Regions from separate parts of the Homo sapiens genome. Here region 1 is linked to region 2. Evidence: promoter capture Hi-C in 16 types of primary human blood cells and fetal thymus (Javierre and others, 2016). All regions are on one chromosome and are shown on one strand. The core of a region is centred on a gene start or on the middle of the fragment in contact, and the rest is flanking DNA. Distances in the headings are between cores, read along the strand shown. Region 1 holds the start of LRP1 (LDL receptor related protein 1). Region 2 overlaps BAZ2A (bromodomain adjacent to zinc finger domain 2A).

Region 1 (5,515 bases), core at 1,694-4,193, 520 kb after region 2:
AAGTAGCCAAGATCAAAGGGTGAGCTAAATGCGTTCATACGGTATGGAAAGGGATCAAGCTAAGTTAATTGAAAAAAAGGCAAGTTACAGAACACTATATATCATATGAGTTTCTTTATAGTTTTAAAGGATATTCACTTATATTTGTATGTTACTGTTTTATTTATTTATTTATTTGAGACAGGGTCTCCCTCTGTTGCTCAGGCTGGAGTGCAGTGGCACGATCTCGGCTCACCACAACCTCCACCTCCTGGGTTCAAGCGATTCTCGTGCCTCAGCCTCCCCAGTAGCTGGGATTACAGGTATGCGTCACGATACGTGGCTCATTTTTGTATTTTTAGTAGATATGGGGTTCCGCCATGTTGGCCAGTGTGGTCTCGAACTCCTGAAAAGTGATCCTCCCACCTTCGTCTCCCAAAGTGTTGGGATTACAGGCATGAGCCACCACGCCTGGCCTGTATGTTACTGTTTTAAAAACTCTCCTGGCCGGGCACGGTGGCTCACGCCTGTAATCCCAGCACTTTGGGAGGCTGAGGAGGCCAGATCACGTGGTCAGAAGTTCGAGACCAGCCTAGCCAACATCGTGAAACCCCATCTCTACCAAAAATACAAAAAAAATTAGCTGGGTATAGTGGCGTGTGCCTGTAATCCCAGCTACTTGGGAGGTCAAGGCAGAAGAATCGCCGAACCCGGGAGGCAGAGGTTGTAGTGAGCCGAGATTAGGCCACTGCACTCCAACCTGGGCAACGGGGCAAGACTCCGTCTTGGGCGGGGGGGAAACCTCTGCTGGTAGGGGAGACCTGAAGAACTGTTAGTAGAAGTTACTCTGAGGGTGCAGCTGAAAAATGGGGGTGTGGAGAGCATCAAGTTTCCTTTTACTTTTTACCTTCCTGTACTTTTTTTAACCACTAGGTATTATCTTTTCTTTCTTTCTTTTTTTTTTAACAATATAAAGTTAATAAAAATACACATTCACATTCAGGAGACAGCAGGGGATGGGAGGTTGCAAGTGAGAAGTGCATGCTGACTGAGGCCAGGTTTTGGAAAGCCATGACTGAAGAGGAGTTCACATTTGACTGGTCTATAGACACCCACTAGAGGTTCCCCAGCAAGGAAGAGACACCGGGAAAGCAGTTTTTGGAAGATTCACCTGACAGATGGGTAGGGGGAGGGAGGAAAGCCCCTTCAAGCCCTCAGGCTACATGTGGTTGCTCCAGATACCGTTTTCCTCTCAAAGCTGTCAAGCTGTCTAAAGTCTGTTTCGACCTGATTTCACTTGGATCCCAATACTGGGAGGGGCCCTGGGAGGAACCTCGTAGGCATTTGGTGAGTCCGCATAGTGCGTCTCACATTGTGTTGGGCCATGGGAGCTGGATAAAAGGAGAAATAAGACCCCGTTCCTGCCTGGAGCAACTCTCTGGCAGTGGAAATGGAGGAAATCTGAGATATACTTCAGAGGAAAAAAATGACAAGCCTGGAGCACAGGCTGGCAAGATTGGATATAGGAAGGAAAGGCCCCCTTGAGTTGGCATAAAGTCTGAGGTTTCTAGCCCAGGAGACTAAAGGCAGGTGGCCACCGCGCTGAGCAAAGCCGGCTGGAAGAAGCTAAAGGTTGAGCTCACTGTCATTAGGAGGCAAGTCCTTCGTGCTGCTCCTGTTTCTGCCAAGGACAGACTGGAGTGGGGACTTTTCCGTAACTAGAACGTAAAAGGGGGAACAGTCCCTCCTCTCCAGCGTCAATTTTTGGCAGCCGACGTCGTCTGCCCCGCTCCTTGAACTCTGACATGCAGACACCTAGAAAGTCAGACACTAAGGTAACAGCCATAAAACGCCGCCCAGAAGGGGGCAGTGACCAAAAGCACGTTCACTGGCCCCTGGGAACCGCCTGGCGCCTGCCTTCTGCAAAGTATCATTCCCGTGTGGGCTGAGCCTGGGGACAAAGGTCCGGCGCTCAGCAGACACCTCCTTGGAACCCGAGGCCTGGAAACGAAGGTCCAGAGTCCCTCATCTTATTCCAAATCCTGGCGCTCGGAATCTAAAACCCTAACTTGATGGCAAGCCAGTCAGAAGGTATTAAAAAAAAAAAAAAAAAAAAAAACAGAAAAATAAATGAGCCCCGACTTCTTGGGCGAAAGGGGGTGGCCTTTCCTCAACCCCACCCGCTGGTGACTCACCTCCCTCCAAACCAGGGCCTGCCCCTCCCGCGCCTAGGGCTGGGCGAGCAGGGCGGGCGGGTACTAAGGTGGGCTCCATCCCCGAGCCCCACGCGGGCGGACAAGCTCCGGCGTGTCCCCTCGGGTGTCCCTGTTTACTCCGAGCCCGGGAGCGAGGTGGGGGCGGGTCCTCGCGGTCCCTCCCCAACCCCGCCCCCTCCTTCGCAGGCCCCAATCCCAGTCCGGTCTTCCAAAGTCTCCAAATCAAAGCTCAGCCTTTCCCTGCACCTTCCCCGCGGACTGGCGGTCCCTGTCCCCACCCCGGGCAGAGGAGGCACCTTCAGGGTTCCCCTAGAAAATCGAGCCTCGGCCCAGACCACTGAGTCCCGGACGCCCCCGGAGGGAGCCTGAAATCCTAGAGTATGACACTGAGTTTCAAAGGGGAGCCGCTCAGCTCTCCGCCCACTGCCCAATCCCACCCTCGACCCCTTCTGCTCTCTGGAGCACCAGGGAGGAGGGCCCAGCCAGGGGAGAGGGCGCCCCAGGCCCCAAACTAGCCAGCGAGTCCCCGGGACCCTCACTCTTGGACCGCTTTCCAGAACTCCGAACCCTGTCGCGGGTCCGCGTCGCCCTCCCCCGGGCAGCGCGTCAAATCGGCGCATGCGCACTCACTGGATTGCCGCGTAGCTCTTTCTCCCCCCACCCACCAACCTTTTTTCTTTCCCCGCCCCTTCCCTCCCTCCCTCCTCAACCCGTCCCCTCCCTCTCCCCCATCAGCCCCCCCCTCGGCACTTCAGTCCGGGGAACAGCGGTGCGAGCTCCAGGCCCATGCACTGAGGAGGCGGAAACAAGGGGAGCCCCCAGAGCTCCATCAAGCCCCCTCCAAAGGCTCCCCTACCCGGTCCACGCCCCCCACCCCCCCTCCCCGCCTCCTCCCAATTGTGCATTTTTGCAGCCGGAGGCGGCTCCGAGATGGGGCTGTGAGCTTCGCCCGGGGAGGGGGAAAGAGCAGCGAGGAGTGAAGCGGGGGGGTGGGGTGAAGGGTTTGGATTTCGGGGCAGGGGGCGCACCCCCGTCAGCAGGCCCTCCCCAAGGGGCTCGGAACTCTACCTCTTCACCCACGCCCCTGGTGCGCTTTGCCGAAGGAAAGAATAAGAACAGAGAAGGAGGAGGGGGAAAGGAGGAAAAGGGGGACCCCCCAACTGGGGGGGGTGAAGGAGAGAAGTAGCAGGACCAGAGGGGAAGGGGCTGCTGCTTGCATCAGCCCACACCATGCTGACCCCGCCGTTGCTCCTGCTGCTGCCCCTGCTCTCAGCTCTGGTCGCGGCGGCTATCGACGGTGAGTGAGATTCCGCGTCCCCCTTGGACCCCTGGGGGCACCCTCTCCCCAGCCCCCACTCCTGCATACGGATGGGGAAGGGAGACGCGGGAGGGGGTGCCTTTTGTTATCCCAGTCCAGCTGACACAGCAGCGGCCCGACTGGGGGCGGGGATGGGGTCCGATTTGGGGGATGGGGGCCCTGGGCAAATGATGCTTCCGGGGCCCCCCAGCACAAACAAAGACCAGAGGCCTGGGTAGAGAGAAGAGGGCTCCCCATTTTTCTGATCCTGGGGAGGAGAGGCCTTCTTTTCCTATCTCTGTTCGGGGAGGGCCTCCGCCTCCCCTACATCCTCACAACCCCCCACCCCCCATCTGAATTGTGAAGGAATCCGGATTTGCAATGTTCGGCTGCAAAAGGGGGTGGGGGTGGGGGGGGTGGCTTTTGCACTGGCCTCTGTAGCTCGAAAGGGGAGCCAGGCCAGGGGTACCCTGCCGGGCAGAGGGCAGGCAGGCCCGGGAAGGCTGTGGGTGGGGAGAGGGAGGGCCCCCTGCTTGGGCGTGGAATCGACCCCAGAGCCCCGGCTGGAGGCCTGGGTGCTGAAGTAGGCTCTTCCCCCTCTCAGGGCCTCTGTCAGTAGCCTGGGGTAGGGCTGTGTTGGGGGGCAGAGAGGGGGAGCTCGCCATACTATGTGACTTTGAATTTTCCTTCTTAATTCCTGGGAGCTTTGAGATGAAAAAACGTCAGATGTCATCACTGGGGAAGGGGACTGGAGAATGGCCTGGAATGCTGGGGTAGGAGGGTGGGGGAGGCTGCCTTCTTCCTGACTTCTGGCTTCATCACAGTTTGGATTGGAAGGAGAGTTGGAGGTTGGATGGGGATTATGGCTGTGCCCCCACACTCCTTTAGTAAATCTGTTTATTCCCTGCACCCCTCCAAGCCCAAAACCCCATACACACACACTTTGTATATTGCAGAGTTAGGCTTAGGCTAGAACTGCATCCTTTTGGGGAAATGGGGTGCCTCTCTTCCCTTTTTTTGTCAGCTGTTTTTTTCTCCTACTTGTGAGTCACTGGTTCAAGTCTTGCCCAAGCTTTAAGCATTAAGCTGGGGTCATGGGGTTGGGCTGGGCTAGGTCCCTGATTTGAGAAGGGGTGGGATCTCATCCCCTCCTGTCATCTTAGCCCTCTCATCCAAAGACAAAACTGGGCTGGATACCATCATACACCCCCTCCTCTGTCTTGCCAGATTGGGATTGGGAAAGTTTTTCTCTGAAACCAGATTATCTCCCTCCCTCTCCCTAACTTGCTTCAATTGGGGGAGGAGACTTACAGGGTCAGGAAGCAGCTGTGTCCCCAAAAAACATATTTAGTGTCCCTCAGTTGTGCCATCTTGGGGACTCTCTACCCCCCACCCCCACCCCACCAATTAGCTGCCCCGGAGGAGGAGAGGGGCTTTTCCTGAATATCCTCCAGATGCCGCACAGCCGGCTTCTGCCTATAACTCCTGTCATTATCATGTGTTTTTCTCTTGTTCTCAGCCCTGTGAGGTGAGAAGGGAAATCGAGGCAGGGAGATTGGGGTTGCAGCCGCTTCTGGGAGGAATAGAAAAAAAATTTGAGAGAGAGAGAGACCCATCAGGAGCCCCTTGAAGGAGGGTGGCTAGAGTTAGGCAGAAGCAAGAGGGTTTCTGTGGAGAGCAGGGAAGGTCAGGAAGGGACCCCAGATAGCATCACTCCCAGGGCTCTAAAGGAGTTCTATTTGCCACACCAAGTTAGTGGAAGAGAGAGACTGGACATGTTCTCCTTAACTATCTCCCTACCCTTTCTTAAAATGTTCACCCACGCCCCCTCTGTATCTCCAGCTCAGATCAAACTATCCAAAGCCCCAGGAGAGGACCCCTCCCCAAACACACACCAATATTTCTGCCTTGGGAGTGGGAATATAAATAATCAGCTCCACCCCACTCTTGGGTACAGGGTGGTGAGAAAGGGGAATTGCATAGAAATGTAAGTTCAACTCTATCCAGAGGCAGCCTAGGGGAT
Region 2 (4,809 bases), core at 2,258-4,757:
AAACTCCATCTGGAAAAAAAAAAAAAAAGGGCCAGGCGTGGGGGCTACACCTGTAATCCCAGCACTTTGAGAGGTCGAGGTGGGCGGATCACGAGGTCAGGAGATCGAGACCATCCTGGCTAACATGGTGAAACCCCGTCTCTACTAAAAATACAAAAAATTAGCCAGGTGTGGTGGCGTGCACCTGTAGTCCCAGCTACTCGGGAGGCCGAGGCAGGAGAATGGGGTGAATCCAGGAGGCAGAGCTTGTAGTGAGCCAAGATCGTGCCACTGCACTCCATCCTGGGTGACAGAGTAAGACTCTGTCTCAAAAAAAAAAAAACAAAATGAGACTTGTTCTAGGTCATTTGGTTGAAACATGACACGGCTAGATGTCTGAGTGAAAATCAAAAGACTAAGTTTTTTCACATTCTTCACACTACACCAGGGTAAACACACTATTTACTGAAAAATGTAGGTATTTCTCACCTGTCCATCCACTAAAACAGTGCCTATTATTATTATTATATTATTATTATTATTTTGAGATGGAGTTTCACTCTTGTTGCCCAGGCTGGAGTGCAATGGTGTGATCTCAGCTCACTGCAACCTCTGCCTCCTGGGTTCAAGCCATTCTCCTGCCTCAGCCTCCCGAGTAGCTGGGATTACAGGCATGCGCCACCATGCCTGGCTAATTTTGTATTTATAGTAGAGACAGGGTTTCTTCATGTTGGTCAGGCTGGTCTTGAACTCCCGACCTCAGGTGATCTGCCCTCCTCAGTCTCCCAAAGTGGTGGGATTACAGGCGTGAGCCACCGTGCCTGGCTTTTTTTTTTTTTTTTTTTTTTTTTGAGACAGAGTCTAGCTCTATCACCAAGCTGGAGTGCAGTGGCGCAATCTCAGCTTACTGAAACCTCCACCTCCCAGGTTCAAGCTATTCTCCTGCCTCAGCCTCCCAAGTAGGTGGGACTACAGGCACACACCACCACGCCCAGCTAATTTTTTGTTTTGTATTTTTAGTAGAGACGGGGTTTTACCATGTTCGCCAGGATGGTCTCAATCTCTTGACCTCACGATCCGCCCGCCTTGGCCTTCCGAAGTGCTGGGATTACAGGTGTGAGACACTGTGCCCGGCCTATTATTTTTTTTAGAAACAGGGCCTTGCTCTGTTGCCCAGGTTGGAATGCAATAACACAACTGAAGTTTACTGTAGCCTCCAAACTCCTGGGCTCAAGTGATCCTCTGCTGCCTGCCTCAGCCTCCTGGGTAACTGGGATTATTAAGCACACACCACCATGCCTGGCTCCCAATTATCTTTTGAATTCAGATGTGAATTCTGAACCTCCATGATAGTAGAAATGGGTAAGGTAAAAGGGTACAACTGAACCAGTATATGATAAGGAGCTAAAAGATGGAAAGAAAGGGCAAGAAAGTCCTCTCCTCTGGGCTAAACACACCTGGGGGCAGCCCAAGGTTTCACTGGTAACAGCAACTCAAGAAAGACCATGGCTGGAAAAGTAGTATTCCCAAGCGCTGGGACTAGGATGCTGGATTCCAAGGAGAAGCTGATTCAGATTCATTCTTCCCAGATAATGTTAGTTACACTCCTGGGAAATCCAGGTATTAGCAATTCATCAACATTTTAGATACCTCATGGAGGGAGCAGAATCCCAAAGTAAGAAATACCACTGTACCTTGGGCCTCCAGTTTCTTTAGGGGGCGGTTGTCTGTCTTGTTCAATAGCTCAGTGATTTTGACCTTAGGTGGCCGACCTCGACCCCGTTTCACCTTGGGGACTTCCTTAGTCTTAGCCTTCTCAGTGTTTCGAGGTCGACCCCGTTTGCCAGTAATTGCCTGAATCCTCGACGGGATCTCCTCTGCTGAGAGCTGCACCCACTGCAAGCCCTAAGGTAGCAAGGGAGACTGTTACAGTAGTAAGGAATCAGTGCAGGCCACGAGGCCCTCGGAACCATTCAATGCCCCAGAACCTTCAAACCCCACGAGAGGAAGCTGCAGCTTGTCCACCAACTCTTCCTCAGGGACAAAAGCATATTTAACCCTTGGGTCTGCACCTCTGGCGTGTCTCTTTCTTCAAAGAAATCTCCAACAGGCATACGGGGACTGAAGCTGAAGTGCTCTCGGCGGACACTGTGTACCACGTTGCGGCTCAGGTACTAAGAGGAAGAAGTAAAGTAACATTAATAAAGTTGGATCCTACCATGTCTTTGGCCAGCAAAGGCATAAGCAGAACAGGCCCAGAGCAGACAATGCCAGCCTGTTGTCACTGAGCCCAAGAACGGAGTCTTGGGCAGTGGAAAGGAGTCCACTGAGCCCAAGAAAGCAGTCCTTTAAAAAAAGCTACATTACCTTGATCACTTCTGGAAATTGCTTCATCCTCTTCCCACAGGGGCCATAATACCAGGTCTCCCCCTGCCATCGGTGGCTGCCCTTCTTGATGCGCACCTCTCTCCGCCACCTGCCAGAGAAGCACATGGGCCCTGCCGCCAGGTCACACCCCTACCCACTCCCATGCCACCTAAGCGCGAAGCCCTCTGAGCAGATGGCCCTCCCCACATTTGTATCTCTAGAACTGCATGCAGATGCAAAAGCACCAAGAGAGATAAGCTTGGCTAGAAGGCTGACTTGAGCTCCAGCAAATACATCAAGGCCCTTAGGAGAAAAGCACTACACCAAACTGCACAAGCTCAGAGAGATCTCCATCCCTCCTTTACAAAATCAGTGAGATAAGCTGCCAGAAACCCCTCCCTGAGCCATTCAGGGCAGTTACTGGATTTCCAGTAAAGAGGATAAAGACCTAAGGGGAATAAAGACAGAAGACAAAGGGCAGGGAGGCAAGCAGAAAAATAAATTTGCTGCTGATTCCATGAAAAGACTCAATATGCCAGGGTTTAGTTAGGAACTCTGTGTTCTGAGCAGAACACAAAGTTAGTCAGAGTTAGTTCTAAGACTAACTCTAATCTTTCTCTCAAAATTTTAAGCAGTACTCAGACTTGGTGACCACAAGTAGCCTTGAGGGGCAGGGGTGGGGAAGATCCAGGAAGGCAGTTATTTCCACAAGGCCCTGGTGTCAGCTAGTTTGTTCATTTTGGTCATGTACTGTTCCTGCCCTTACCTCTCCTAAGAGCATTAAAACAACAAAACCACCTCAATTCATTAGTACTAAGTCACTCCTCATTCATTACTATCCCTTGTCCACAGAAATAGGACAAGCCAGCTGGTTTGGATGTGAGCCCTAGGGTTTGGAAAAGATAATAGCTGGAGCTCCTTGGGCAAAATTGAGTCACTACAAGATGAAAAAAGAATAGGTGATGGAAGACAGACCTTGAGAGAAGAAGGAAAACCTAGGAATCTCATGCCAAGAAACATTATCACTGCAGATAACTGTCCTGTAATCTACTCTTGTCTGGCCCATTCCTCCCCCACCTCAGAGGAAAAGAGGCATTCCCTTCTTTCTAGAGTTGTGCATTAAACTTGTCAAGGTCAATAAATGTAGCAAACTAGAGCATTTACCCATGTTGGAGGGGAAGACGAACTTCTTCTGGGGTAGCAATACGTCTCCTCATGACATCACCTTGGGAGGAAGGGATACCCAAGTTAAGAGTTCAAGCAAAATATTTAAACAATAGGCCAATAGGGAAAGGCTAACTACAACATGGGACAGAAAAGTTTCTTGGAACCAGACAGGGATAGAATAGAATCTGGATACTCACCACTACCAGAAGCAGTGAGTCCTTCTCCAGTGATCTCTTCCACGTCAGCAGTGGTTTCTAGAAAGCTGCTGACATCCTTATTTGCTGGGGAGGCTGTTGGAAAGGCAGCTGCTGGGGAAGTTACGGGAGAGGCTTTTGGGGATGTCACTGAAGCCGTCAACGGGACTTCTAAGGAGACTGCTGGGAGGACTGCTGAGGAAGCTGGAGAGACCACTGAGAAGACTGCTGGAGAGACAACTGTAGAAGCTGCGGGACAAACTTCTGGAGAGATTTCTGGGGAGGCTGCTGGAGAAACCACTAGGGAGACTGCTGGGGAGGTTGTTGGCGAGACTGCTGGTGAGGTTGCTGGATGTAGCTGAATAGTGGATGACTGATCAGGAGCTGGCTGGGTCAGGGATGGTGGGAAGTCTGAAGATTGAGTTTCCATTTCTTCCTGTTCAGCGTCACTACCATTATTCAGGTCAAAGCTGTTATCTAGAATCCAAAGGGACAGGATAGGCTTTAAAAAAAAAAAAGGCATCACATAAAACAAGAGAATCTACTCAGTCAACCCTGGACCAAGCTAAACAGGGTTACTTCAAGGGGTCTTCCCTAGGGTTGGAAAAAGAAGTAGCTTTTTCTCCCAACCAATCATGAGGATTAAAGGGTAAAGTTGCTACAGATGTCATTGTGTGAAGAAATACCTTTTACCTGGTGCCAATAAAGCTTCTAGCCTCCTTCTCCCTACAAATTCCAAGTCTCACAAGTTCTTCAAAGCAGAGGGCACAGGTCGGAGTATAGCAGCCTATACCTCTTTTAGTTCCACCATACACTATCCCATAGCCCCTCAGCTCCCAGCAAGGTGCTCTTGCTTTCCTACTTTTTTTTTGAGATGGAGTCTTGCTCTGTTGCCCAGGTTGGAGTGCAACGACACAATCTCGGCTCACTGCAACCTCTGCCTCCTGGGGCCAAGCGATTCTCCTGCCTCAGCCTCCCAGGTAGCTGGGATTACAGGCATGTGCCAACACACCTGGCTAATTTTTGTATTTTTAGTAGAGGCGGGGTTTCACCATGTTGGCCAGGTGGTCTCAAACTCCTGATCTCAGGTGATCCACCCGCC

What was found. The method cuts DNA at HindIII sites, captures the fragments that hold promoters and counts their contacts. A CHiCAGO score of 5 or more calls a contact.
Region 1: the fragment with the promoter of LRP1 here is called in contact with a fragment that was not itself captured in region 2 in 1 of 17 cell types (monocytes); the score reaches 5.2 in monocytes.

What each region holds. Positions count from the first base shown.
Region 1 is chr12:57,125,540-57,131,054 of GRCh38, forward strand. It overlaps LRP1 (LDL receptor related protein 1), which reads left to right and starts at 2,944. Exons shown (of 89, transcript NM_002332.3): 1 at 2,944-3,492. The coding sequence starts at 3,426. RefSeq lists an enhancer at 1,951-2,604. The HindIII fragment of the contact is 5,123 bases long and covers 1-4,562 here.
Region 2 is chr12:56,608,063-56,612,871 of GRCh38, forward strand. BAZ2A (bromodomain adjacent to zinc finger domain 2A) reads right to left here. Exons shown (of 29, transcript NM_001300905.2): 6 at 3,711-4,184; 7 at 3,511-3,571; 8 at 2,347-2,455; 9 at 2,052-2,153; 10 at 1,674-1,884. Among named protein-coding and RNA genes, the nearest start is that of BAZ2A, 20 kb to the right of the region's middle. The HindIII fragment of the contact is 1,811 bases long and covers 2,603-4,413 here.